Linked DNA regions of Homo sapiens: all the other regions are linked to region 5. Evidence: promoter capture Hi-C in 16 types of primary human blood cells and fetal thymus (Javierre and others, 2016). All regions are on one chromosome and are shown on one strand. Each heading gives the region's core, a stretch centred on a gene start or on the middle of the fragment in contact. The rest is flanking DNA. Distances are from core to core; before and after follow the strand shown.

Region 1 (3,781 bases), core at 596-3,095, 560 kb after region 5:
CAGGCTTTTGTTATTTTCAGAATGCAGTAATGCAATGTGCTTGAGCTTTAACCTGCTGGAGAGGCACAAGCAGCCTTCGGCTGGCTGGAGTTCACAACAGCAGCCCTCCTATCAGCTGAGTGGGCAGGAAAAGGACCTAAAACTACAAAGTAGAAAGCACAGGTTAGAAAATTTCCTCGTGGCAAAACATATGCACAACATTGGGCAGTCAAAGCTTTCTTCACTTCTGAATTCCTCCCCACTTCCCACCCCCGAAATAGTCTGCTATTCTAGGTCAAACATACTTTAAATATAGGTACATTATGAATCAGCTAGAATTACATAATGATCAAGCAAGAAGGACCTTTAAAAGTATTGTCTAATGGAGCACTGACTCTGAAGCCACTTAATAAGTGGCTGTGTGACCTTCAGCAAACCCACGTCTCTATATCTCAGTGTCTTCATCTGGAAAATGGGCATAATAAAGGCAACTGTTTTTTGAAATTGCTGCAAAGACTGAGTTAATCCATGTAAAATGTTTAGAAAAGTGCTTGGCACATTGTAAGTACTAATAAATTTTTAACAGTTCTTACAATTATAAACTAGTAAATCCCATTATTTTAAATGGAGGAAGATACTAAGGCTCAGGATGCTAAAGTGACCCTGCAGTTGGCAGTAATAGGGCTGTTTGCCAGGCTTCAGGTCTCTCTGACTCCTGAACCAGCGTTCTAGAGTATTAATGTGTAGCCCTACATGTATAATACTCCTTGACTAAATTTTAGGTCTTGAAAGACACAAATAACAAACACAGTGCTTCTTTAGAAGTATGTCTCACACAATGTGGGAATCTGTAACATGTTTTTAATTTACTCTCTTCATCCCAAGTTTAATCTTCTAACATCTAAAGAAAGGTACTGGCACTAAATCCCGGAATGTCCAAAAGGCAGGATGAAACCAGACTGTAAACGAAAATACATGTAAACTTTTTTTTTTTTGTATTTTTCATTGAAGGAGGATAGAGTACCTGAATACGCTTAGCATTTAAGGGAAGAGACTTCTTTTCTCTTCTAGAAATACACTCACATAAACCTCAGACGCTATTATCAGGGCTTGATGAATTCTAACTTTCAGTAATTAATACCTATCGATTTAAAATTCAAGAGGCAAAAGAAGCTCACAAAATAATAATACATAGTATTTAGTGAAGTACAATAAATGCAGCAGGAGAGATATAAAGATGTAACCAGAAAATGTTCTACGCTACGCTAAAGCCAGAGTAAGCTTTTAAACAATCTCATCATTTCTCTCTCACAGACGCATGCATGCATGTACCCACATGCACACACACAATCACATCACAGTGTTTAAACCAGCCTATGAGGCCCTGAAATATCTAGCCTCCCGCACACCCCTGCATCTTTGTTGGAGCCTCACTCTCCTCAGCTCTCAGCCAGATGGGTCCTCTTTCCTTTCCTCAAACTCGCACGTCTCCATTCTGCTTTGGGGCCTTGACACTGGCATTCCCTGTGCCTGAAAAGTTCTTCTTTATTTCCTCTAACTACACCTCTGCCTTGGCCTCTCCAGCGAACTATTAACAGCTTGATTTATCCTTCAGACTCTGCTTAAATTTTTCCTCAAAGAAGCTTTCTCTAACAACCCGTACTAGCCTCTCTGCCCTCCCTCCTCCCCAATCAATCACACACAATGAAACATGGTTCTAACCACTTAACCAATAAATATCTTTCTTCCCCCACCAGACTGTAGGCTCAAGAAGGGCATGGGCTTTGTTCAACATTGCTTCCCCTGTGCCTAGCACAGTAGATGGTAAATGAAATTAACAACATCCCCTAAGGATTCAAAAGACCAAGTGATAAACTGATTTCCTAACTTCACTCAAATTTGACACAAGGCATCCCATATCAAGCTGTCAGCATGACAAATACACAAACCATACAGAGGCATGGGTTACGTACTACCTTTGGAGAAAAATTCAGAATGAACAAAAACTTGGATTGGGATTGTATGTATTTTAAAGTTAGTATGTGCAAACCTACAAGAAAAAAAAAGTTACTTTTTAAAACAAGCTTCAGAAAAAGAAAAAGTAACTTGTCACTAACACAACATGCTCACTTCCGAAGAACAAGTAGAAAAGTGGAGGGTGGAGGAAACAAGAATGCATGTGATCCTCCTAGGCTATTACCACTTCTTTCCCAAGTAAATTTATCTCCTAAAAGGAGAGAATATGCCGAACCATCATTCTATGTATATCTGGAAAATACCCAGTGGTGTGATGGGCTTCTATGAACAGTATGCCTACAAGGACGGGGCACGTGGGCTAAGGGAACAAGCAGCATCACGTAGAGACAGCTGTCTCTGGCAATGGCTCCAGTGCCCTCTTCTTCAGGGTTTCCACCCTAGCACCACTCACAGCATTAACTTCTCTTACTTTGGGAAGAAAAAAGTAGACTCTTTTCCAACAGAACAGATAGGAATCAAATAACAAAGATTCCAAAAGATCCTTCTAGAGAGTTCTGCTTTATTGAAGGATACACAAGGACAGTCAGCAACAACAACAGCAAAAGCATTTCACTACCAGGAAATAGTTACTGTATCAAGAGACTAAACTTTCTATATAGAAAGGAGAAGGAAAAGAGGGGGAAAAAACCCCACAAAACAACAAAAAAAGTTGGGGATGGGGAAGAATGGGAAAAAAAGAAGAATGTTGAAGATGAATGAAAAAAAGTGTGTGTAATGGAAAGGAGTGAAGGATCAGGAACTAAATTTTACTCAAGTATATGCATCTGAGAGCTTAGAGAGACCTCAGAAGGAAAACTGCCAGGTCGAGCCTCCTCCCCTTAGGTTAGCAGTGTTGATCAGCCTCTGTCATCCACCAAACCAAAGCCTAGCTTTGAGTTATTCTCATCTAATCTAATTGCAGACATCACTGAAGGTCCTTGACGCAAACAAGAAAAACCTCTTCTCATTTAGTCTCTATTAATGATTACAGAAAAAAAATAAACAGGTGAACTCACTGCTAATTACACTAAGCAAAGGGAAGAGATTCTGGGTACGCCCAATAGGGGCACCTTTGGCTGTGCTGTGTGACCTCCTCGAAGTTACTATGTATGCCAACTGATCCTCCCACACACACCCATTCTTAAAACACCCGGCGCATTACCATACTACAACCTTTTAAAAACTATCCCACAAAAGAAAGAAAACGTCTCTCACCCACTCTAAGGGATACTGGGAACATTTCTGCTTTCAAACACACTGCCTTTAAAATTTTAAAGACCTAATTCATTTTCTGTGATAAAAAGTTTACTTCCAAAAAAGTGGCTAGCACAGTTTCCAGCATATAGTAGGCTTGTATTAAATACTAGTTGCACACATGACAAAAATGATCGTTCTGAATAATTTTCACAGCTGTAGAACAGTTACAACCTTCTCAAGATATGAAGCTTTTACCTCCACAAACTAGAAAAAAAGGGCGGGGACTATTTTAAAGCCAATCTGTAAGGCACGGCAAGAAAGTTGCAAATATTTGCATTCATTTAACGGTAATTTCTGAGTCTGTAAAACAAAAGGAAATGCTCAACGAGAAAATAAAAAACCTTGTGCAGAGCTTTGAAACTGTGGAGTTGGGACTCTTGACACCCTGGTGTGCACGCAGATGACTCTGAAGGTGACAAAGGGAAAGTGTTTGCACTGAGGACTTTGATAAAGGATCTTTCCGCTGTGGAATTCCAGGTTACTGCTGGCATTCTTTTGAAACCTTCCAACCTAGCTGCGAGCCAAGGGA
Region 2 (4,020 bases), core at 1,003-3,502, 620 kb after region 5:
AGGACTGTTATGTGGAAATGTTCATGAATTTTTTTTTCTTTTTCTTTTTGAGATGGAATCCCACTCTGTCATCTAGGCTGGAGTGCAGTGGCGTGATCTCGGCTCACTGCAACCCCTGCCTCCTGGGTTCAAGCGATTCTCCTGCCTCAGCCTCCTGAGTAGCTGGGATTACAGGCACGTGCCACCACGCCTGGCTAATTTTTGTATTTTTAGTAGAGACAGGGTTTCACCATGTTGGTCAGGCTGGTCTCGAACTCCTGACCTTGTGACCCGCCCGCCTCAGCCTCCCAAAGTGCTGGGATTACAGGCGTCAGCCACCACACCCGGCGGAAAATTTTTGACATAAAAAAATTGGGAAACATCATATAAAAATATTTTGCATTATAGATAAATTCTGAAGTGACTTGAAGAATACTTTTGTAAAATGATTAGTTACCTATGAATAAATGTAGGTTTTGAAGCACAACATTCCGTTGAACTCTATATTTCCCTAGTTACTAATCTGCCACATGAATCACGACAATAAATTAGACATTTTGCTTTAATTCATATTTCTCATTATGACTGTATCTTGCAAATGAGGCAAAATCAGATGTGGCCAAAAGGTAAAATTAGTTCATTTGCCATGGCTGAGCTATGGGGTTCTCCCAGAGTCTCCGCCTTATTGCAGGGCCATACTTTTTAGCTGCAATTAATTGGATAACAGATTACTTTCATGCAACTCTTTCTTTTCTTTTTTTAAAAAATATTTTCGTTACATTCACAACACCATGCGATGTTGTGTATGGGGGGTTAATTCCATTTGTATATGAGGAAACTCTGGCTCAGAGTTAGAGAAGTCAGGATGGCTACTAGGGCCTGGTGTCTCTAAAGTGTGTCATTCTCTTGTACCTATACACATGGGGCTGCAGGGCTAGGCAGGCGGTATCAGTGAGTGCAATTACACAAAGGTGAGGAGAGGTGGCGCTTTCATTGGCCTCCGTGTCAGAGAGTGGAGGGGACAATAGGAAATACAGGCCCTGTTGAGAGGAGCCACTACCCAACTCCAGTCTTGCCATCATGCGGGAATGTGGATTTGGTGTTGCCAGATCTTTGAGTTTTTAGCAGAAGCCAAATATTTGAGTGTCCATAGGAAATCTCTGGATCTTAAAATATTAGCTGCTAATTCAGATTTCTAAAAACACAATCTAATGCAGCACTCTGGGCCAAACCAACCAAATCTGCAGTCTGTCACCCCTGTTCCACACCACGCTGCTGGGAAGTATGTCAGCTGCAGACTGGCACTGAAGACCACAGAGTTAACTGTCAGAAGTAGATATTGCCTTTGAAATTGGAGAAAGAGACTGTTAAGCAGCTCTTAAAAGACATGAAGTGACAATGAAGCAAATCTTCAAAAGGTGAAAGAGCATTTAGACACTTCAAGGAAAGTTTCTGAAGTCTGAACAGATAGGCTTTGACAAAGGGACCGCTTTCATCACGTATCCTTCTCTTGTTCTCACAATAATTGAGTCCTTGCTGTGTCCCAAATGGTATTCTGAGCACTTTGTAAGTAGGTATAAGCATTATCTCATTTAAATCTCACTGCAACCCTGGGAAGAATGAACTACCTATCATTATCCCTTTTTTATAAAAGCTTGGAGAAGTGACAGGGCTGAGATTTGAACCCAGGTGGGCTTCAAAGCCTGCTTACTCACTTAATAGCCCATACAGTTATTCTTCCATTACTTGGTTCCTCATTCAAGGCATTGAATATTAGGAGCTGGAATTCACTGGCTGTGGAGTCCCAAAGCTTTATGCTCTACTCTCATGAGCTTTCAATGAAACACTTAGTAAAATCTTTCTTTTGGGCAGAGCTTGATGAGTCTGAGCTAATTTATATAGATGACTTTCATCAGCTGGCATTTACATCCCAATTTTTAATTAGCTAATTCCTTTCCCAAACACTTCATTTATTCCTATTTCAATAGAAGGTTTAAAACAGAAAAAATCAATTTGTAAATGAGTATCATTTGTCCTGTTTTCAGTTAAGCAGGAATGGCAATCATTTAAAAATGAATTTATTAATGAAGAGTATAATAATTTCTCCTTTGCTTTTCTGGAAGGTGGTAATTCACAGTCATTGAATTTAAATGTATTCAGTCTGCTCAATAAAGCTGGTAGTGTGGAGAATAGGGAAGTCTAGCTGGACATTTGGGTTTCATTCTTTACGTAAGTAAAGGCAGTTGGTCATCGGTACTTGCAAGACGCTTAATAAACCGATAGCTTATATAGACAGTTATTTTCTTTCTCTTAGGCAGTCAAGGCTTTCTTTTCAATGGGTAAGGTAACTGATGAGGGATACTGTGTGCATCATTGAGATAAAGGTGCAGGGCAGTCTGGCAGTCATGCAGAAAAAAACCTTGCCTTGGCTCAGAGCATTCACGCCTTCAATAACTACTCACTGAACTTGAGGACAAAGACCTTTTCTCCCACACAGCTTCCTCCCTCCTCAGCTACACATTCTGTATGTGGTCTCCTAGTTACGAGAGTACAGTACTCCAGTCCCTCAAGCCTGAACTTGGGCCTCCTGCCACCAGTCAGAGGATGAATGCTGGTACATGCAGCTCCTTTGCAGTAAACTCCAGGGAAGCACTACTATCTTGTTCCCAAGAGGAAGTCATGAATCCTGAAAGAAGTTTGATAAGGAGGACAGTGGTGGTTAGAAACTAAGCTTAGGGATGCTTTATCATAGCCAATGGCACAGTAGCTAAAGCTGGATGGTCTAATATGGTAGCCTCTGGCCACATGTGGCTCTTTAATTTTCTAATTTTTACTTCTAATTGTGGTGAAACGCACATAGCATAAAATTTACCATCCTAACCATTTTTAACTGTAGAGTTCAGAAGTGTTAAGGACATCCATATTGTTGCACAACTGATCTCCAGAGCCTTTTCATCTTGCAAAACTGAAATCTGTACGCAGATTGTAAACAACTTATTCCCTTCTGCCCAGCCCTTGGCAACCACCATTCTACTTTCTATTTCTATGAGTTTTACTATTCTAGATGCCTTATGTAAGTTTTTTCGTGACTGGCTTATATCACTTAGCCTAATATTGGCTGTTTAACTTGAAATTAATTAAAAATTTGGTTCCTTCGTTGAACTAGCCACATTTCAAGTACCAGATAGCCCATCCGGCTGGTGGCTACTGTATTGGATGGTGCAGATAGAGACTATTTCTATCATCTCAGAAAATGCTCCTGGACAGCGTTGGTCTGAAGGAAAACTGGTGGCTCGCACTGAGAGCTGATTGGAGGGGGGACAAGGAGAAAAAGTAGCAGATATTTTTTTATACTCTGCCAACGTGAATAATCTGACTTCTTTTCTCTACCACAAAAATGTACCAGCTACATGATACCTTTACATTTACAACTTCCATCCTTATCCTAAACTCCAGTCTTTAATGTCTCCTCTCCTCCAATAGCATGCAACATTAAACTAATCAGTTGGAAAATACAGAGAACATAAATGTATAGTACAAACTACAGATAAATGCACTTTAAAATACTCTTAACAAGGACTTCTTAGGAAATGCTTGTCAGCTTACCCATCTATGGGAGTTAAATTAGAGTGTTTCATTAATTAGAACTGTCAGTGTATTGCTAACCTGGCAAGAATCCTAATGGGTATTTGCCACAAAGAAGCCTTATTCAGCAGACCTGCCCTTTTAGCCTGTTGCTTTTAAGTTTTTTCCTTAAGACTCACAGTAAGAAATGTTACATCTCAACATAGTACCTATAGACGCTTATATGTGCATGTGTATGGACCTAAACTTAAAATTAGAGTTTCTGGCATTAGTACTTACCCTTACTGTATGAGATGCATACATGCTTTCTAAAAATGCTTTTCTGAAAAAACTTGTTCCTATCCACTAAATTGATTTCATAAACCACAAAAAGGCCACAACATACAGTTAGGAAAACACTGTTTTGGATACACCCACATCCAGTTTCAGGCCTATAGTGTAACACTGAAGCCCCAC
Region 3 (3,651 bases), core at 283-2,782, 640 kb after region 5:
GAAATAGTGAAATGAAATAAAATCATGACATAGTTGAAAGAAGATTGGGCTGGGAGCTGGAGTTCTTGGCTTTCAGTGTGGATGTACCAAGTTACATCACCTCTCTGGGCCACAGTTTCCTCATTTTTTCAATATGAGGTCTAGATTGGATGACTTCCGAAGAACTCCCAAAGCTAACATCCTAGAAAAAGGAATGGGGTTGGATTTTGGTTTTGTAGGGGGAAATGGCACATTTAGACAGTGGTCTCGGGAACTCACTCCTCTGCCACCTGATGGAGAGGTCTGCGAGGGACACCCTTTTGGTAGCACAGTGACTTCCTGCCTTCCTTACCTTTCCTTACTGTTCCTCATTCTTATAAACTCAGGAGGAGCAGCTTCCCTGAGCTGGGGAAAAGGCAGAAAAAGCCAGTTTTTAAAAACCAGTTATATATAGCTAGTTTTCTCTTGATTAGCAAAATGAAATGTATAGAATAACAAGAAGTTTTTTTTTTTTTAGCTTATGTTTTGACAGCTCTCCAGTATTTTTTACTGTATTTGCAGTATGAGACTTATAGAACAGGCAAAATTACCATTTTAACAGTTGATTTCTAAGGGACAGTGGAAGAGGATTTTTTGCCTTTCTTCAGAGCACCTGATATATCTTTTTAAGATTATCAACCAATAAAGCAACAGGAGTTTACTGAATATCTACTTTGTTCTAGACTCTGTGGGTACATGAAGCAGCTCAAAGCTTCAAAGGGATTTTAGTCTGGTTGCAGGAAGAAGAAAATTGAGCAATGGAAATTTTAAGAATAATATAAGAAGATAGTAGGAGAGAGGTAACTCAAAGTGATCTGAGATTTGATGCCACGTGAATGGCACAGAATTCCAGGGTGTGGCCTTCAGCAAACACTGCGGGATGTTCACAGATTATCACAGACTGGTCATATTTGGGAATGCTTTGAGGGGCAGGTTCATTTGACCTGAAGCTGCAAGGCTGAGGGAGGTAGACACAGAAGATATGTTTGTCACAGACTTGGCATTGTGATAATTAGCAAGGTCAGGAGTAGATGACAGGGTGAGAGTTTAACCTTCACCATATAACGTTAACTCCATCTTGGGCTAGCCATGTCCAGCTATTGTAATAAAAAGGGTGTGAAGAGCACTGGTAGGTTCTTCAGGGTGGGGATGGAGTCACAGGCATCTGCACCTTAAGTGGATCTTTTGAGTTCATCTTTAAAGCAGCTATGATCAGTTCAGCCAAGCATAGCCAGATTTTGAAGGGTCATTTCATACCAACCAAATCCTAAAAGTAACTCATGCTCATTACCCAGCATTCTCTCTCTCTCTCTCTTTTTTTTTTTTAGACAAGTCTTGCTCTGTTTCCTAGGAGTGCAGTGGTATGATCTCGGCTGATTGCAACCTCCGCCTCCCAGGTTCAAGCGATTCTCCTGCCTCAGCCTCCTGAGTAGATGGGATTACAGGTGTATGCCACCACACCCAGCTAATTTTTGTATTTTTAGTAGGGACGGGGTTTCACCATGTTGACCAGGCTGGTCTCGAACTTCTGACCTCAAGTGATCCGCCTGCCTCAGCCTCTCAGAGTGCTGGGATTACAGGCGTGGACCACCACATCCCACCCCAGATTTCCTTTTTAATGATTTAATTCTAGTATTAATTTTTAAGAAGCTCCAGATGATATTGATACTACAAGTCAAAAAACCACAGTTTGAGTGGCAAGTTCTAGAGTAGTGGTTCTCAAAGTATGGCTGGTGAACAAGCATCACCTGGGAACTTGCTAGAAATGTAAATTGTCGGTCCCTATTTCACACCCAGGGGCCAGCAACCTGTTTTAACAAGTTCTCCAGCTGGTGCTGATGCACGGTTACGGTGAGAACCGCTGCTCCACAGGAAACTTTCTATCAGTTGGTTTCATTCTCTTAATTTGGGGCTCAGTGCCTCCCTAGGTATTGCTGTGTGAGGAACCACTACTTTCTCTGGCCTTGCTTGCACTCTGTGTCTAGTGCCAGTTCCTCCCTGGACAGCTTCTATGAGAGCAGGCTATGTCCATTTCACATGCTCTTTCAAGGGCCTGCTAGACTGTGGTTGATTATTCAATGAATACAGTAGTTGCCCCTATACTTATCCTGGTACTTTGCACTTTCCAGCAGCATGTGAAATCCAACCTCAGTTCAAAGAGACATAAGGGAATGACAGTAGCAATGTAATAGGCACTGATTTTAAGATAAAGGTATAATTTGTGTATGTTTCCTAGAGGCTTGTGGGAATGTAAGCATTAGGCAATATTGTTTTTATAATGCGTTTTCAGTGACATTTATCTCAAAGCTAAGCTTCATCTGTTATTTTTGATTCACTGTTCTCTGACCACTAGTCCCTTTCTCCTGAGGAAGAGGCATATAAAGACACGTACACATTTTTGCATGTTTCATGAAGTTGGTTCCAAGTAATGAGTAGCCAATAGAAGCTAACATAAAAGTGGGAATTTGGCCAGGTGCAGTGGCTCATGCCTGTAATCCCAGTGTCACACGATCCTTACGGTGTTGCTTTTCCAGCCGGAAACCTCTGTGGCTGGTGGCACCTTTGCCTGAGTTTTGGTCGGGCTGCTGGGCTTGTTCCACCACTTGGCCCTGCACACTGTACTCAGCTTATGCTACTGGCCTGGATCCCATGCCTTCCAAGCACAAGCCAGGCGCAGAGAGGAAAGGGGTGTGTGAGCAAGCATGGGGTCCAGCCACTGCACACAGCCAGGTGTGCCAGCTGTGGCGGGATGGGCAGCTCTAGGCGTTGGCACAGGCACTAGCTCTGTGCGAGGCTGCAGCTGGACCAGGCGTACTGCAAATGGCTTCCACTGCAGTCACCAAGAAACGTGGTGCCTGGAAGCTTGGAAATGCCAGGAACTGCAGAGCCCCAAAGAGAGTGTCACAGTCCTGGCTCAGGGAGCCCCTAGGTCTGGACTCCCCAAAGGGCTGCAGCTCTTCTCTCCTTTTCATCACCTGCAATTTTGCAAATGGTGGGGGCTGGGGGTGTGCTTCAGCACTGTTTGTGTTATAGCTCTTTCAGTCCCACCATTTGGCGGGTCCCAAGCTCTTGTCCCATGTTCAGGAAGAGTGAGATACATGGACAGCTGGAGAGTGAGCAAGGTGGTGAGGAGCTTCATTGAGTGACAGAACAGCTCTCAGGGGACCCAAAGTGGGTAGCTCCATTCTGCAGGCAGGTCATCCTGACGAGTATCCAGCTCTCAGCAGAGAGGAGACCTGTAGTGGGTAGCTCCCTTCTGCTGCAGGCAGGTCATCCCAACGAGTCAAGGAGGCCCAAACTTGGTAGCTCCTTCCTGCAGCTGGTAGTCCTAACGTCTGTGTGAGTCTGACTGAGTCTGGGGTTTTTATGGGCTCAGAAGGGAGGAAGTGTGTGCTGATCGGGTCATGGGCAAGCCTGGAAAAAGCACCATAAGTTCTCACTCTGGGCTGCGTACTCCACCCGGAACTAGCAGACCAGCCTCCGGGCTTCCGGCCATTCCTGGCTTGAAGGTGGGGTTTCACTGGGGACCTGCTCCTTTCCGCCCAGGAAACTGTCTGCCTCCTGCCATCAACGTGCCATCCATGATGTCCAGGTTTTTCATCTTGGGGGGCACTGGCAGGCCCACACTGAGCT
Region 4 (3,506 bases), core at 141-2,640, 710 kb after region 5:
TGGGAAGCCTGGGAGAGGGCGCGCGGGAGCCAGGGCCCTGCCCTGTCTTGCCACCTGGAAGTGAAAGAGATTCTGGGTTAGCTCGGCAATAAAGAAGGAGAAAGCCCCCGCAGGTAGGCGGCACTCAGGACACTCAAGCCTGCCCGCAGTGAGCTGCACTGTAGACCGCTTTTTCTGCACGTGTCCACTGAGAGGCCTCAGGTGCCACAGCTGTCACCCAGAAGGACCAACTGGACCAGATCCAAAGTCCTTGCCAGCATTAATGACAAGCCCAGGTCAGGCCTCCAGCCCTCCTATCCATGCCACCTGTGCTGTCATCTGCCTTGGGCCTCTAGTATCCCAGCCAGGGCCAGGACTGCCCGGGTGTCTTTTGCCCTTCCTAATCAAGGCCACACTCACGAACTCATTCACTGACACCCGCTAGGTCCATCAGCCCTTATGCTCTAATTTGGACCCTCAGGTGTACCAACCAGCACTCCTGGCTAGGGAGGTTTTCTTCACTCCCAGCATTTTGTGAAATTTGACTTTCTTTGTTTCTGTGTTGAGAGCAGAAAATTCATGATTCCCTGAATACATAAGGTAAGACTGGAGGGAGACATTTGCCCTTGACAACCCAGGTCCAATGACCTTGAACCTCACAGTTCTATGACCTCTGGAAGTTCAAAACCTCCTTTCCCAAAGACTTATGCTAATTCCCAAGGGTTTTGGCTTTCTCATCCTATAGATCCTTCATTGCATCTGCCCCAGCTTGAAATTCAATTCCTCTTTTAAATTCAACAACAACCATTGGCTCTTGATAAGCATTTGCGTTTGGTTTTCATGGAAGACTCAGGTGGAGCACGTCCCCAGGAGGGGCCTCTATACTCCGCACAGCCTTGCACCTTTTTGCCAGTTCTCACCCTTTTTTCGCTCTGCCTCTCTCTAATAAGAAAAAGTTCCTCTCGTTGTTTACTGCCTCGAAGTTCTGCAATTACTGCTTAGAGATGTCCTTGGAGTATCACTGTCTACTCAGGAGGCAGATTAAAATATTTCTTCCAGATTTAGTGCTCTTTTTATAAGAATTCTGGGGGGTGTTTTCCCCTATATTTTATAATCACCATGACAACATGTGGACAACACTTGAAAAATGATGTTTTCTCACACCCACTACTTCCTGGGTGCTGCAGCATGGGACCTGCAGCTTTCATTTCAGATTAGAAATCCCAGCATCTGTTGGGGGTTCTGAGATTTGCAGTACTTGAGTCTCCTGTGTGTTTACCCCAATCAGGGGCTAAGCCATACACTTAAAGTACTGGATGTCAAAAGCCAGGCCAATCAAAGCACGGCCTAGCAGAGGTGACTCAGGTGAAGCTAAGTAGGCAAGACCTTGGTATCTGGCTTTCCAAATATGAGCCCCTCTGGCTATAATGTGACAGTCACCTAGACCATAATATTCCAACCACATTATGGAATGGCTGTTCTTAAGGTAGGGTGAGGATGGTATTAGCAGGTGTCAGCTCAGGGATTCCTGCCTAGAAGTTCTCAAACCTTTTTCCATATAATACAAAAAGATGACGAGGAGAACCTAGGCAGCTGCCTAAACAAGGCAGAGCCTACCTACATGCCCAGTGGCTGAATGAAATTGAAAGGGATAATGAAAGTTTACAAAACAGAGCAAAGCCTACCCTTAAATAGCCTATCCAAACCTTTTAAGTAACTGAGGACACCATGTCTCAGAGATTCAAAAACCCTTAAAGTGAGTCAGTTAAAAGTAGGGGATCCTGTGTTGATGAAGCCACCAACCAAATGAGAAATGTGGGCAAACTCATTTTTATCCTAACATGCGCAGCAGAAGCGAGGGCGGGCATGCCCCTCAGGGAGGAAGGTGAGACTGCAGAGGAGAAAGGGGCTGATGGTGTAAGTGCAGGCAAGTGGAGGAGGCAGGCCTGGGCCGACAGAGAGCTCCGAGGGAGTTGAAGGAAGTAAGGGAGGAGGCTGTCCTTCACAATGGAAACCCGAGCCCTAGAAATCCAGAGAAAACACAAAGGAGGCCAGGAGGTGGCGGGAAAGGCCAGATTGAGGGCATCAGGGATGCTGTGCCCATAGGAAAGGATTCAGCTTTTAGAACATGCAGGTTTAGCAAAAGATGAAATATTTCTTCTTCCTCAAATCTGAATGTTCTCCAGAAGACCTTGGAAGTCTCATTACATATTCTATTCAACCCAGAAATAATGTTTACTCATCATATCTTATTGTAATTCTCACTCCCTTAGAGCTCTAGGCCAAGGTTGCATTATGACTCCAGGGTCCCTAGGCACTTTTGCCTTTGTGGGCCTCTTCTCTATTAAAAAAATATTTATATTCATGACTGCATTGGTACAAAGACAAATACATTCTTTGATCCTAAAAGGTCATATGTTTTCTTCTGATTTTAAAAGAAATTTAAATATTTTCATGGGTCCCTAAAAGTACCATGAGCCCATGACACTGTGCTATGGTCCCTAATGAATGTCAGCCACCACACTACCATTCACACATGCAATTCAGCAAGTATTTACTGAGCACCTGCCATGCGCCAGGCATTTCTATGGCAATGAACAAAACATAGTCCCTGCCTTCACGGAGCTTAGCTTCAGATGGATCAGACAGACAATAAACAGATAAACCAGTGAATACATGATATGTCAGGTGGTGCCGAGTAATACAAGAAAAGTAAATTGAGGAAAAGGAGATATGGAATGAAAGGATAGGACTAAACCTTTATATGGGATAATAAGTGAAGACCTCACGGACACTTTGATCAGCTGCCACCTGAGCAGAGACCTGCAGGAAGGGAGAGACTGAGCCACGTGGACACCTGCGGATGAGCCTTTCAGGCCAAGGGAGAGTCGGTGCAAGCGCCCAGTGGCAGCAACATGCTGGTGTGTGAGAGCAGCAAGGAGGATAGTGTGAGTGGAGGGGATGGCATGAACCACCAAGAAAGGTAGGCCAGAAGATCAGAGAGGGAGCAAAGGCTCAAGTCCCTTCCTCTGATGAGAAGGGGGCTGTTGGGAAAGTGCTGGGAGCAGGGAGCCACGGCCTGCCTTGCCCTGACATGGTACCCAGTCCATGTGTTTATCTGGTGGCTTTCTCCTTGAGTTTCCATCCTGGAACAGGCATCATTAGTCACTTCCTTATGGACCTCCATCTCTAAAGAGATAAATTCTTGTCTTCCCCATTACAGCGGCTCAAACATCTGACACTTATGTCCCACTGGTGACAAGCAGACCAGTAGGACTCCTGCTGGCTATTTTTGGCTGCTTCCTATGAAAACCTGACTGGGGCCCATTTCTCCCATCTTCTATGAAGAGAAACTGGTGGAAGCCTTCTATTCCAAAGGATATTTGTTTGATAGCACTCGGGAATTTTGAAAAAGAAGAGGACACTGAAGAATATCCACTGTCTTTATTGAGGAAGACCTTGTACTCTACCTTTCCTGCTAACCCCTCAGCAAAAATGAGGAAATGAACATGGCCCCTGAGAAGGTT
Region 5 (3,964 bases), core at 785-3,284:
TTCAATTGCACTTCACAATGGAGTTATCCAAAATGGATAGGGGTGACAGTGTGTCTCATTTCCCCATATACAAAAAATGGGTAAAATTAGATCATCTTTAAATTATTTTTCAGCTGACATAGGACTCAGTAATTCACACAATTAACTAACTGATATATGTGTGTTCTTGGAAAATTAGAAAAAAATATCCAAACTAACTTAAATCAACTAACTCGTATATTCGGAAAATATCTTAAAGTACAAAACAATAATCAAGACAACATAAACAATACACAAGACAGTAGTTAGTAGCATCGGAAAGCTGCCGCGATCAAAGTTTACTTTAGTTAACTAGATCCTGTCTTAACTACCGATGGATGATTTTCACTGCAGTTCCAGGCTAACGTGGCAGAGGGAGGGGTTTGGGTGTGGTGGTTTTTTTTTTTCTCCAAATTAGTTGTATGCTTCCTTCTAAAGGGAAGGATATTTTTTAAAATGGCAAGTTAAGAAAAGACAAAGGAACCACACCTAATTTTATTTGTGGAGTGGAAGGTGGGTGGAGGGAGACAGAATATGCAATCGGTGTTCTGACACCAATCATGAAGAAAAAAGTTAAGCCCGTGGTGATATTTCAAAATGAAAGGCTATTTATTAAAATCGGTCAGGCTCAAACCAGCGAAGAGGACAGATGGCAAAGTGGCTGAATTTGCGGCAGCTATGCCCCAATGAATTATTTCCGAGATAGGGTTCCACCCTCTGTAGCTAAGGCAAATTATTGCATCAGGCGCCCATGCAGGAGAAACCCGTTTGGTGTTTACTACTAAGTCATGATCTCCGGGGTCCTACTGCAAGCTCTGGCTCTCCCTAATTGCATATGGGAATCATCTGAAATAATCTTTTCCTTGATATCTCTAAATTCTAAACTCTATGGCAGTGCCCTAGGAAAAGGAGGTCTATATTAAATCACCAAGTCCTTCAGCCCATGAAACCTTCCCTCACCTTCGGGAAAATCAAATGTCAAAATATTCCATACTAAGGATGGCTGACTTCACTCCGCAACACTTAGTTTCCCAGGTTTACGATCTGAGGGCTCACTGGTTCCAAACGGCCTTTTCAGAAGCCAGAAAAGATGACAAGAGCAAAGGATGATGAGTTCACAGCATTAATAGAAAAGTTCGACACCTCCCCACATCCACATTTCAATTCTATTTTCTCAGCCAATCATTCCGCTAAACTAAGCACTGAATGAAGGAAGATGTTAAGGGGGAAACACTATCAAAGCATCCTAAAGATTAAAGGGCCTGGCCGTAAGACGAAAGAACCGGCAGTTTTTCGGCTCATCATTGACCACTGAAAGAATTAGGAGGCTTTCCACCCAGGGTGCACAAAGAGTACAGCAGAGCCTGGAAAACTGAAGTTAAGGTTATTCAGTTAGGAGGCGAGGACAACCAAAGGGTCACAGATCCCAGCCCCACTGGAAATAGAGGAGACGCGGGCTGTGACAGAATGGGGAAGGGAGAACGGAGCCGGAGAGGGACGCAGGAAGTCGGAGGGGTTCCAGGGAGTCATCCAAAAAGAGAGGAGGACGGAGGTCCGCGGGAGAGGAGGTGGCTGACGCACGGGGGACTTGGGACCAAAGTGGGGGAGGCGAAGAAGACGCCAGAGGATGAAGGGAAAGAAAGGGGTAACCGAAGAGGAGGACAGTTCCCCGGGGAGGAGGGAAGGATGACCAGAAGAAGGCCCTGGGAGGAGAGCCGGAGGCTTAGCGGAGAGCGCAAAACACCGGTACCTGCTGGCGCACTGCTAGCCTCAGAGGTGCCAGCACCTCCTCAGCCCCCGCGCCGTCCATGCTGCTCCGGGAGGCGGCGGCGGGCAAGGAGATCGGGGGGCAGGAGGCCGCGCTGAGGGACCGGCGGAGCAGGAGCGAGGGTCGGGCTAAGAGCCGGGGCGGCAGCAGCAGCAGCAGAGCGGCGCGAGCACCTCTAAGCAGCACTGGACGCGGAGAGGGCATGAGCCTGCGGCCCTGGGCTGTCCAGAGAGGGTGGCGACGGAAGCGGCGCGCGCCGCCCGGCTCGGAGCATGATGAAATCGCCGCGTAAACGACGCGGCGCGCGTGCTGCCGCACATTCACCACCGCGTGACGCGGCGCCGGGTCGCCGCCGCAGATTCGACACAAAACCCGGAAGGACCCCGCCGAAGGTTTTCTCCGGTTCGGGAGAGAGGTAGGTAGGGTTGCGAGCGAACAGATTTGCACAGAAGTGCGTCAAGCCACCCCAGCAGGGTGGATGTTCAGGGACACAGCTCTGAGCGAGACCTGCAGGCCGAGACACACGAGAACCTTCAAAGCATAGGTTTTTATACGAGTGACACCCCGGCCGACCTACTTGAACGGACACTTCTGTTTCTGTTCTTTCGCGCCCTGCGCCTTAAAAGGGTCGCAAAACATCAAATCAGATAGGGATCTTAGACTTCTGTTGCTCAAGTGCAGATGTTCCCCAGATAAGGAAATAGGCCCAGAGAGGTTAATGATTTGCCCAGAGTCACACATTCTTGGTCCGCCGATGTCAAGACAAAAGCTGGCGAACGGGGGAGGAGGAGTGAGGGGATAGAGTCACCCCAGGCTTTCTGGAGAAGGTAAATTCCAATCTGCCCTTGCGGGGCGAGCAGGATTTGAACCGGCAGAGATGAGGAAAGGCAAGAGGTGCCTGATAAGTCTTTCTGCTTGGCATAGCCTCAGTCTATCTGCCTCCTGTGGTTAGGCCCCAGCTGACCAACCACCCAGAGATGGCTTCCCCCCGCCCCACACACCCAGTTCCTCCTGCCCAAAGGGTGGAGGGCCTAGAAAAGCTGGGTTCCCCCTCCAGGAAAGGAAGAGAAAAATGATGTGTTGGTTATAAAAACAGCATTGCGCACACCTGCAAAAATGGCTAAAATGAAAATGATGGAAAATGCCAAGTGACCCTCTGAGACTCCCCTACACTGCTCAGGGGAGTGTTAACTGGTGCAGCCAGCCACTTGGGAGCTCTTCGGCAGTATGCACGTACGTCTCCCTGTGACCCACAATCCCACCCCAGGAGTGTGCAGGAGTAGACGGGCTCAGTATAATGAAGTCTCCTTTCCTAATGGTGTGAAAGTCCATGTTATTTCTCTTCCCGTTCCAGTGTGCAGTTCTGGAGAAGTACTTACAATTCAACATGAGCAGGGTGGGTTGCTTAAGAACCTTCTGCAATATTGAACAATTATATTTTTAAACACTTTTATTTCAAGATTTGATATTAATTATAATTTATTTGGCTTTTATTTTACTAGGCAATTTTGAATTTATTTTAATATCTTTAAATGTGAAAAATCATTTTAAGTTTTACTTTTATTTTTATTTAGATTTTTATTAAAATGTTGAAATTCTATATCCTTTGAATAAAACTATTTTATTTCTAAAAAATTCCTTAGATCAATAATGTCTCATCCATTTTCATGTTAGGACAGTCCTGAAAGGACTCCAAATCCGTTCTTCCCTCCTCCCCGACCAATTCATCCTCCCCACTGCTGCTTCAGTCATTCTTTCTTTCTTTTTTCTTTTTCTTTTTTTTTCCAGACGGAGTCTCGCTCTTTCACCCAGGCTGGAGTGCAGTGGCGTGATCTTGGCTCACTGCAACCTCCGCCTCCCGGGTTCAGGCGATTCTCCTGCCTCAGCCTCCTGAGTAGCTGGGATTACAGGCGTGCGCCACCACACCCAGCTAATTTTTTTATTTTTAGTAGAGACGAGGTTTCACCATGTTGGTCATGCTGGTCTCGAACTCCTGACCTCGTGATCCGCCCGCCTCAGCCTTCCAAAGTGCTGGGATTACAGGTGTGAGCCACTGCACTCGGCCCAGTCATTATTTCTGAAAGGCAAATCTGACTGTGTCCCTTCTCTTCTCAGGACACTTCAGTAGGCTCTTCATGGCCCTTGGAAGAATTTCCCAAACAGTTTTCTTTTGAAAAC
Region 6 (3,984 bases), core at 936-3,435, 670 kb after region 5:
TTGAGGTACCCGAGGTGGGCCACAGTGCACCTGTTGAGAGGAGAAAAAAATGTCCAAATCTGACAAATCTGACCTATACATATGGGGCACATATGGGGAGTTCCTTCTCTCCTGCTGTTATTGCAGGTGCTGCCCCATGGTACAGCTGAAAACAGGCAATCCTTGGGACGCAGAGGTGCCCATGCCTGCCAGGAGCAGCCCTCTGATCCAGCAGTGTTTCCTCTGGATGTGGGGAGGGTAGGATAAGGCTCTCTCCCCGGCGTTACAGTTGGCCATAGTGGTCCCTTAGCCCGTTGGCCTGGGATCCCAGGCCACAGCTGTTTATATGCGTGGCTCTTGTGTGTGTGTGTGTGTGTGGGTGGGTGGGTGGGGGGGTGATGTATCCTAGACTTGTACAAGTACACACACATGCAGGCATACGCACAGCCATTTTCCCGAAGATAACATCCATCCTGCCGAGAGAACTGAATTGAAGAGAGCTGGGGGGCATTAGCTACCTGCTGTGCCCTGTGCTAGCTCTCTCACACAACCAGACTTCTGTGTGGTGTGCACCCTCCAAGGCCTCTTCTGTCATCTTTCTTACTCTGTCCCCTCCTTGGGTCTGTCAGAGATATTCCATAGATTTTTCAGTAAGGTAGAACCTCAGAAAAAAACTAAAAACAAACCCAAACCAAAAGGCCCTTCCTTTCCCAAAGGCTGCTTCTCAGACCACGGTATTAAAAAAAAAAAAGGCAAACCTCTCTCGCTCAGCTAGATGGCTCCTTGCACCGTTTCTCAGAACACTGTTTGTTTGCCTCACTTTTTATTGCTAAAAGAGTCCTCTCAAATGGTTCAGAACAAAGGAAGTCTGTTTTGATGTCTCTTTGCTGTAAGTAGAGGAATTTGCAGCTTGTAAATGGCTGCAGTTTTGCTAAAATAGCGACTAAAACATGCAGTTATGTCTCTCTTGGCACTCACCCACCCACCCGTCACCCACACCCACCACCCACCATAAGTTGGCTTGGGAAATGTTTGCTGAATAAAAGGACAGTCTCTGGGTGTTCCCGGGTCCCAGCCTCTGCCTGGCTGAAGTGCCTCTCCTTCCTCTCCAGGTCCATATTCAAGCCTTTCATCTTTGTTGATGACGTAAAACTTGTCCCCAAAACACAGTCTCCCTGTTTTGGGGATGACGACCCTGCCAAAAAGGAGCCTCGGTTCCAGGAGAAACCAGACCGCCGGCATGAGCTGTACAAAGCCCACGAGTGGGCACGTGCCATCATCGAAAGTGACCAGGTGAGCTTGCATGAGGGCCACAGAGGCGGAGGCGGAGGCGGGCGGGCGAGGTCAGCGAGGAAGGAGGCAGGGAAGCAGATGTCAAGCTAGACCCTACCCCCACCCATCCAGTGTGACCGGGCTTCTCCCAGAGACCAGGTTCCTGGGGCCTTTCCTAGAAGGCTGGTGTCCATTTTCCTGCCCAGGCTCTTGAAACCAAATAAGACAAAGCTTCTGCTTCTCATGTTATTTTGGAATTCAGCAGGCTGAGTATCTTACTTACATTTACTGTTTACGTAGGAATAATAGGAATATGCAGTACGTTAGGGATAACTGTTATATATTGTGTAAAATTCCTTATGTACTTTTGGGGGTAAAAAGTTGTTATTTGCTGGCAACATTTTATTAAAGATACAATCATATGTTGTTTCAAAAAAGTTCTGGAGTTGGCTGGTGGTGCTGGTTGCACAACATTGTGAATGAGCTTAATGCACTGAACTATACATTTTAAAGTTTTTAAATGGTCAATCTTATGTTATAATACATATGTTTTACCATAGTACAAACATAGTTTTAGAAAATATTCTCATATTCCTAGGGTTTTTTTTTTTTTTTTTTGTATTTTTAGTAGAGACGGGGTTTCACCCTGTTGGCCAGGCTGGTCTTGAACTCCTGAGCTCAAGCAATCCACCTGCTTCTGCCTCCCAAAGTGCTGGGATTACAAGCAGGAGCCACCGCGCCCAGACTCATATTCCTAGTTTTAAAAAAGAAGTCGTAATCCTTCAAAGTGCAGCTCTCCCCAGTCCCACACCTTTGGTTAATAAAGTGATAAGTCATCAATTCAAACAAGAAAACCACCCAAAGCACGTTCCACAGCACCCAGTGTGTCCACAGCAGCCACCCCGATGGACTTTATATAAATTCAAGCCTATATTTTGCTGAAGAGAGGAAGAAGGAACGTGCTTGTTAGACACTCATCAGTTTTCCCCAACTATTTATGTAACAACTTTTAATAGGTCCAAACTGGCCTGAAGGGCCCAAAAGGGGGACCTTTTGTGTAAATTGGTGCTGTGGACTGTGTGAGCCTCTTGCATTTGACATGGTGGACTATAGAAAAAGGATATCAAGAGAAAAATCCAAGCAATAAATCCAGATGAATTCAGAAAGCATCTCTGAGAAGGGCTGTCTCACTTTTCTGAGAGCTTGCCCTTCTCTTCCATAGAAGTGACCATTTGACACGTAAAGGTCGCACAGTTATTTTACATCTCTCCTCCCTGCCAGCCTAAAAAGGCTGGCAGATAATCGGAAGCATGCATGCTGCCACTGCATTCAACTGTGTTTTCTCCAGGGCTGTCCACATTAGTTCCTGATAGTGCTTATGTTCTTGGTGGATGACCATAAGCCCCAAGTAGATGAAAACTGTCGCTGTGTGGTGTATGGTGTTTTGGGTATTTGGTTCATTAGAATGAAGAGGTAGAAAGGGCTGTGTGTTCAAGATGAGGCTGCTGAGGCTGGTGGGTTTTGAAATTTACAAATGACTCTCAGGTGGAGTCACATGATGCTGCATGAAGCAGTGGTGGGCGGGTGGTGAGAGCAGCTTCTCAGTTCTGGGACTCATGGGGCAAATGAAAGCTTTCACTGTCATCTGCCATAAATGAGTGAGTCCCATGGAAGAAGTGAACTCACCATCTCAGAAAAAGAGTGAACAGGGGAGAGACATGGCACCTGTTTATTCATTGATCCATTTTTTTTTTCATTCAATGAACATTTTTTGAGAGTGCCCTCCCAGTCACTGGAGGATAGAAATGAGCCCAGTTCCCATCCAAGGGGCCACAGCTGCAGAGGCAAGCCAGCACAAGGTGGGAGACAGCGCCCATGGCAGGGGGAACGGTGTGGCACTGTGCGGGGAAGAGGAAAGGCTTTGCAAGGAAGCTGAAGATGGGTGCACGTCGACCAAGCGCTGAGAAAGGGGATGGCCCTCCAGAGGGCAGGGCCACCTGTGCAGGGGCGAGACAGCAGCAGAGGCTGGAGGGCTACAGTGAATTCAGTCCAGCTGAGGAGTGGGGAGATGCAGGGGAAGTGGTCTTGGATGTCAGAAGGGCCTTCCCTCAGTGTCACTCTGGGGTCTGGGCTTTGTCCTGAAGGCAGCAGAAAGCTGTGCAGGTGTTCTAAGCCGGGCAGTGACATAATCATACTGGCATTCTAGAACAATCCCTGCGGCAGTCGTGTGTGAAACGGAGTGTGGGGAGGACAGGACCTTGAGCAGGAAGCCAGCTGGCCCCCTAGAGGGTTTCAGTGTCCGCTGCAATGTCCCCTGCTATTTTGCTGACACCTAAAGCAGTCGTGTCCTTCCTCAGGAGCAAGGTCGCAAGCTGAGGAGCACCATGCTGGAGCTGGAGAAGCAAGGCCTGGAAGCCATGGAAGAAATCCTGACCAGCTCCGAGCCACTGGACCCTGCGGAAGTGGGGGACCTTTTCTATGACTGTGTTGACACGGAGATTAAGTTCTTTAAGTGAAGTAAGCGTTCCCTTTCCCCTTCTTATTTAAGACTTCCCACCTTACTAAATTACCAGCAAAACAAACCACTCTCCTGTTTGAGTAAAATGAGAAAGTTAATATGTGGCCTCCTTTTCTGAAGCCAGATCAAACTGTTACCTTGTGTTCCACCTTGAATCTCACAGCGTCCCCTTCTGCAATGTAGGTCTCCTTCCTGTGCAGTGTAACATGTATCCC
Region 7 (3,590 bases), core at 543-3,042, 580 kb after region 5:
AATCCCAGCACTTTGGGAGGCTGAGGCGGGCGGATCACCTGAGGTTGGGAGTTCGAGACCAGCCTGACCAACACGGAGAAACCCTATCTCTACTAAAAATACAAAAGTAGCCGGGCGTGGTGATGCGTGCCTGTAATCCCAGCTACCCAGGAAGGCTGAGGCGGCAGAATCACTTGAACCCGGAGGCGGAGGTTGCGGTAAGCCGAGATCACCTCCAGCCTGGACACTCTGTCTCGAAAAAAAGAAAAGAAACACGGTTAATAACATATAAATATGTATGCATTGAGACATGCTACCTAGGACTTAAGCTGATGAAGCTTGGCTCCTAGTGATTGGTGGCCTATTATGATAAATAGGACAAATCATTTATGTGTGAGTTTCTTTGTAATAAAATGTATCAATATGTTATAGATGAGGTAGAAAGTTATATTTATATTCAATATTTACTTCTTAAGGCTAGCGGAATATCCTTCCTGGTTCTTTAATGGGTAGTCTATAGTATATTATACTACAATAACATTGTATCATAAGATAAAGTAGTAAACCAGTCTACATTTTCCCATTTCTGTCTCATCAAAAACTGAAGTTAGCTGGGTGTGGTGGCTCATGCCTGTAATCCCAGCACTTTGGGGGCCAAGGAGGGTGGATCACTTGAGATCAGGAGTTCAAGACCAGCCTGGCCAACATGGTGAAACCTTGTCTCTACTAAAAATACAAAAATTAGCCAGGCGTGGTGGTGCACACCTGTAGTCCCAGCTACTCGGGAGGCTGAGACAGGAGATTTGCTTGAACCCGGGAGGCGGAGGTTGCAGTGAGCCAAGATTGTGCCACTGCACTCCAGCCTGGGTGACAGAGCAAGACTCCATCTCAAAAAAAAAAAAAGAAGCAGACCTACAGCAGCTACTATTGAATAAATACCTATCCTGGATTTTAAAAAAGAAAAAAATATATATAATTTTATTTTAAATTGGCTTTTATCTTTAATTCTTTTTTTTAAAGTTATCAAATCTTCATTTTCTAAGAGTAGCCCTTTATAGTGTACAAAATGATATTAAGTGCATTATTATCTTCGCTTTTCATGGCTCTGAGTCATAAAACAAGCTGGTGGATCTCACTGTACCTAATTTATAGACGAGGAAATTGTCATTCAAAAAGATTGACTGTTATGCCCAGGGTCAGCACTAACCTGCAGAACCAGTATTCAGTCCCCAAGTTCAGTGTCTTCTACTGCCCTCTACTAATGAAAAGTGAAAATTTCCCTGGGGTCTAATTCTCTCTTCAGTTTGCTGTGCCGTTGTTTATCTTTGAGTCTTCATTCTCTGAAGATGGCTTTCTGCCTGTTTCTGGTACATTAGAATTCTCACTATGATATAGAAATGGCTTCAGTTTCATAGCATAATCTTGCAGTTAGCTCTGAATTGCCTCAAAAACCCTGAACAACGCGAGGTTCCAGATGTGTTTTACTTCTTTCATTCATATTTACCCCCATTTGTTGTTTAAAAAGAATTATGAACAATTATTACATCATATGTAGACCACTTTCACTGATTATATGTTGACATTTTCCTCAGTAAAACATAAAGTTCTTAACAAGACTATACTGTAACACCTTTCTCCAACAAAATCAGCTGTATGTTGAAAACTATTAAGTCATTGCTAATGTTTTAAGCCATAATACAGACAGCCTTATACTCTATGATGGGAGAAGGGAAAGTAGTTTGTCCGATGGTGCTACTCTGTATAAACATTACTGATGCTATCTATAGTAGGGCAAGAAAAGTAAAAAGAGTTTTGATTATTCAGGCAGCATTTTTAAAAACCTGTGAATTTGTATCAGTTCTCATCTAAACATTTGGACACAAGTATAAAATGAAAACATATGCACAAGTTATGGTTTTTAAGTTATCTGCTCTTTTTTTTGGTTTCACTGTACCTTTGTACTCTTCTATTAGTGGGAATAATCAGACATGAACTGTGACTTCACATGTACAGTCATACCTCACTTAATGATGGAGATGCACTCTGAGAAATGTCTAATTAGGTTATTTCATCGTTGTGGGAACATCATAGAGTGTACTTACACAAACCTAGATAGTGTAGCCTGCTACACATGTAGGACATGTATATAGCCTATTGCTCCTAGGCTACAGCATGTTGCTGTTCTGAATCATGTAGGCAATTGTAACACAATGGCAAGTGTCTGTTTATTCAAACATCTAAACACAGAAAAGATACTACAACAATAACAATATGGTATAAAAGATTTTGTAAAAAATCTGGTCAGGTGCAGTGGTTCACGCCTGTAATCCTAGCACTTTGGGAGGCTGCCTCAGCAGGTGGATTGCTTGAGCCCAGAAGCTCAAGACCAGCCTGGGCAACATGGCGAAACCCCGTCTCTGCTAAAAGTACAAAAGCTGAGGTTGGAGGATCACCTGAGCCTGGCAAGGTCAAGGCTGCAGTGAGCCATGATCATACCACTGCACTCCAGCCTGGGTGACAGAGTGACTCCCCATCTAAAAAAAAAAATATATATATATATATATACTATATATATATATATACCATATATATGGTATATATATATATAGTATATATATATATGGTGTGTGTATATATATATATATGGTATACCTGTATAGGGCACTTACTAACGGAGCTTACAGAACTGGAAGTTGCTCTGGATGAGTCAGTGGTGAGTGAATGTAAAGGCCTAGGACATTACTGTACACTACTGTAGACTTTATAAACACCGTACACTTAGGTGACACTAAAATTTATAAAAAATGTTTTTCTTCTGGTTGGGCATGGTGCCTTATGCCTATAATCCCAGCATTATGGGAGGCCAAGGTGGGTGGATCACTCGAGGTCATGAGTTTGGGACCAGCCGGGCCAACATGGCTAAACCCCATCTCTACTAAAAATACGATAATTAGCCAGGTGTGGTGGCACATGCGTGTAGTCCCAGCTAATTGAGAGGCTGAGGCAGGAGAATTGCTTGAATCCAGGAGGTGGAGGTTGCAGTGAGCCAAGATCGAACCACTGCACTCTAGTCTGGGTGACAGAGGAGCAAGACTCTGTCTCAAAAAAAAAAATTCTATAATTTTTATAGAAATAATAAAAAACTAACCTTAGCTTACTGTAAATTTTCTAGTTTAGAAACTTATTTAAAAACAATTTTTGGACTCTTCTAGTAATAACGTAGCTTAAAACACACATTGCATAGCTGTACAAAAATATTTTCCTTATATCCTTATTATATAAGCTTTTATCTATTTAAATTTTGAATTTTTAAACTTTTTGGTCAAAAACCAAGACAAACACACTAGCCTAGGCCTATGCAGGGTCAGGATCAAGACATCCCTAGCAGGTGACAGGAATTTTTCAACTCCATTATAATCTGTGGGGCCACCATCATATATATATTGTACATTGACCGAAACATGGTTACATGACTATATAATTTGCGTCAATACTGCTCAGTGTGCCATATTTAAATTTACATGACTATATTGTGATATTCTTTTCAAAATAAAGTTTATTTGGGAGATAACTGATTTTGTGAAAAATTCTTCAACACCAATTTCCTCAGC

The links. The method cuts DNA at HindIII sites, captures the fragments that hold promoters and counts their contacts. A CHiCAGO score of 5 or more calls a contact.
Region 1: a contact is called between a fragment that was not itself captured here and the fragment with the promoter of GARS1 in region 5, in 12 of 17 cell types (non-activated CD4 T cells, naive CD4 T cells, activated CD4 T cells and 9 more). The highest score is 18.4, in non-activated CD4 T cells.
Region 2: a fragment that was not itself captured here is called in contact with the fragment with the promoter of GARS1 in region 5 in 5 of 17 cell types (fetal thymus, monocytes, neutrophils and 2 more); the score reaches 12.0 in fetal thymus.
Region 3: a contact is called between a fragment that was not itself captured here and the fragment with the promoter of GARS1 in region 5, in 4 of 17 cell types (naive B cells, monocytes, total B cells and 1 more). The highest score is 7.8, in naive B cells.
Region 4: a contact is called between a fragment that was not itself captured here and the fragment with the promoter of GARS1 in region 5, in 1 of 17 cell types (naive B cells). The highest score is 6.0, in naive B cells.
Region 6: a fragment that was not itself captured here is called in contact with the fragment with the promoter of GARS1 in region 5 in 1 of 17 cell types (neutrophils); the score reaches 6.7 in neutrophils.
Region 7: a fragment that was not itself captured here is called in contact with the fragment with the promoter of GARS1 in region 5 in 6 of 17 cell types (total B cells, activated CD4 T cells, naive B cells and 3 more); the score reaches 8.9 in total B cells.

The regions. Positions count from the first base shown.
Region 1 is chr7:30,029,165-30,032,945 of GRCh38, reverse strand. The region is part of intron 1 of PLEKHA8 (pleckstrin homology domain containing A8); the gene reads right to left. Among named protein-coding and RNA genes, the nearest start is that of PLEKHA8, 2.6 kb to the right of the region's middle. The HindIII fragment of the contact is 441 bases long and covers 1,625-2,065 here.
Region 2 is chr7:29,975,392-29,979,411 of GRCh38, reverse strand. All of the region lies in intron 1 of SCRN1 (secernin 1), which reads left to right. Among named protein-coding and RNA genes, the nearest start is that of FKBP14-AS1, 11 kb to the left of the region's middle. The HindIII fragment of the contact is 921 bases long and covers 1,792-2,712 here.
Region 3 is chr7:29,950,377-29,954,027 of GRCh38, reverse strand. The region is part of intron 3 of SCRN1 (secernin 1); the gene reads left to right. Among named protein-coding and RNA genes, the nearest start is that of FKBP14-AS1, 36 kb to the left of the region's middle. The HindIII fragment of the contact is 1,600 bases long and covers 733-2,332 here.
Region 4 is chr7:29,880,398-29,883,903 of GRCh38, reverse strand. It overlaps WIPF3 (WAS/WASL interacting protein family member 3), which reads right to left. Exons shown (of 9, transcript NM_001080529.3): 5 at 1-54. Among named protein-coding and RNA genes, the nearest start is that of WIPF3, 76 kb to the right of the region's middle. RefSeq lists an enhancer at 1-672. The HindIII fragment of the contact is 5,877 bases long and covers 1-3,506 here.
Region 5 is chr7:30,592,948-30,596,911 of GRCh38, reverse strand. It overlaps GARS1 (glycyl-tRNA synthetase 1), which reads right to left and starts at 2,034. Exons shown (of 17, transcript NM_002047.4): 1 at 1,769-2,034. The coding sequence starts at 1,990. RefSeq lists a silencer at 743-842 and enhancers at 738-1,351, 1,352-1,965, 1,986-2,335, 1,966-2,579. The HindIII fragment of the contact is 4,590 bases long and covers 1-3,964 here.
Region 6 is chr7:29,923,740-29,927,723 of GRCh38, reverse strand. It overlaps SCRN1 (secernin 1), which reads left to right. Exons shown (of 8, transcript NM_014766.5): 7 at 1,092-1,272; 8 at 3,609-3,984. The coding sequence ends at 3,767. Among named protein-coding and RNA genes, the nearest start is that of FKBP14-AS1, 63 kb to the left of the region's middle. The HindIII fragment of the contact is 1,401 bases long and covers 1,485-2,885 here.
Region 7 is chr7:30,010,547-30,014,136 of GRCh38, reverse strand. FKBP14 (FKBP prolyl isomerase 14) reads left to right here. Exons shown (of 4, transcript NM_017946.4): 4 at 1-3,550. All of the region lies in intron 2 of FKBP14-AS1 (FKBP14 antisense RNA 1), which reads right to left. Among named protein-coding and RNA genes, the nearest start is that of FKBP14, 14 kb to the left of the region's middle. The HindIII fragment of the contact is 2,945 bases long and covers 320-3,264 here.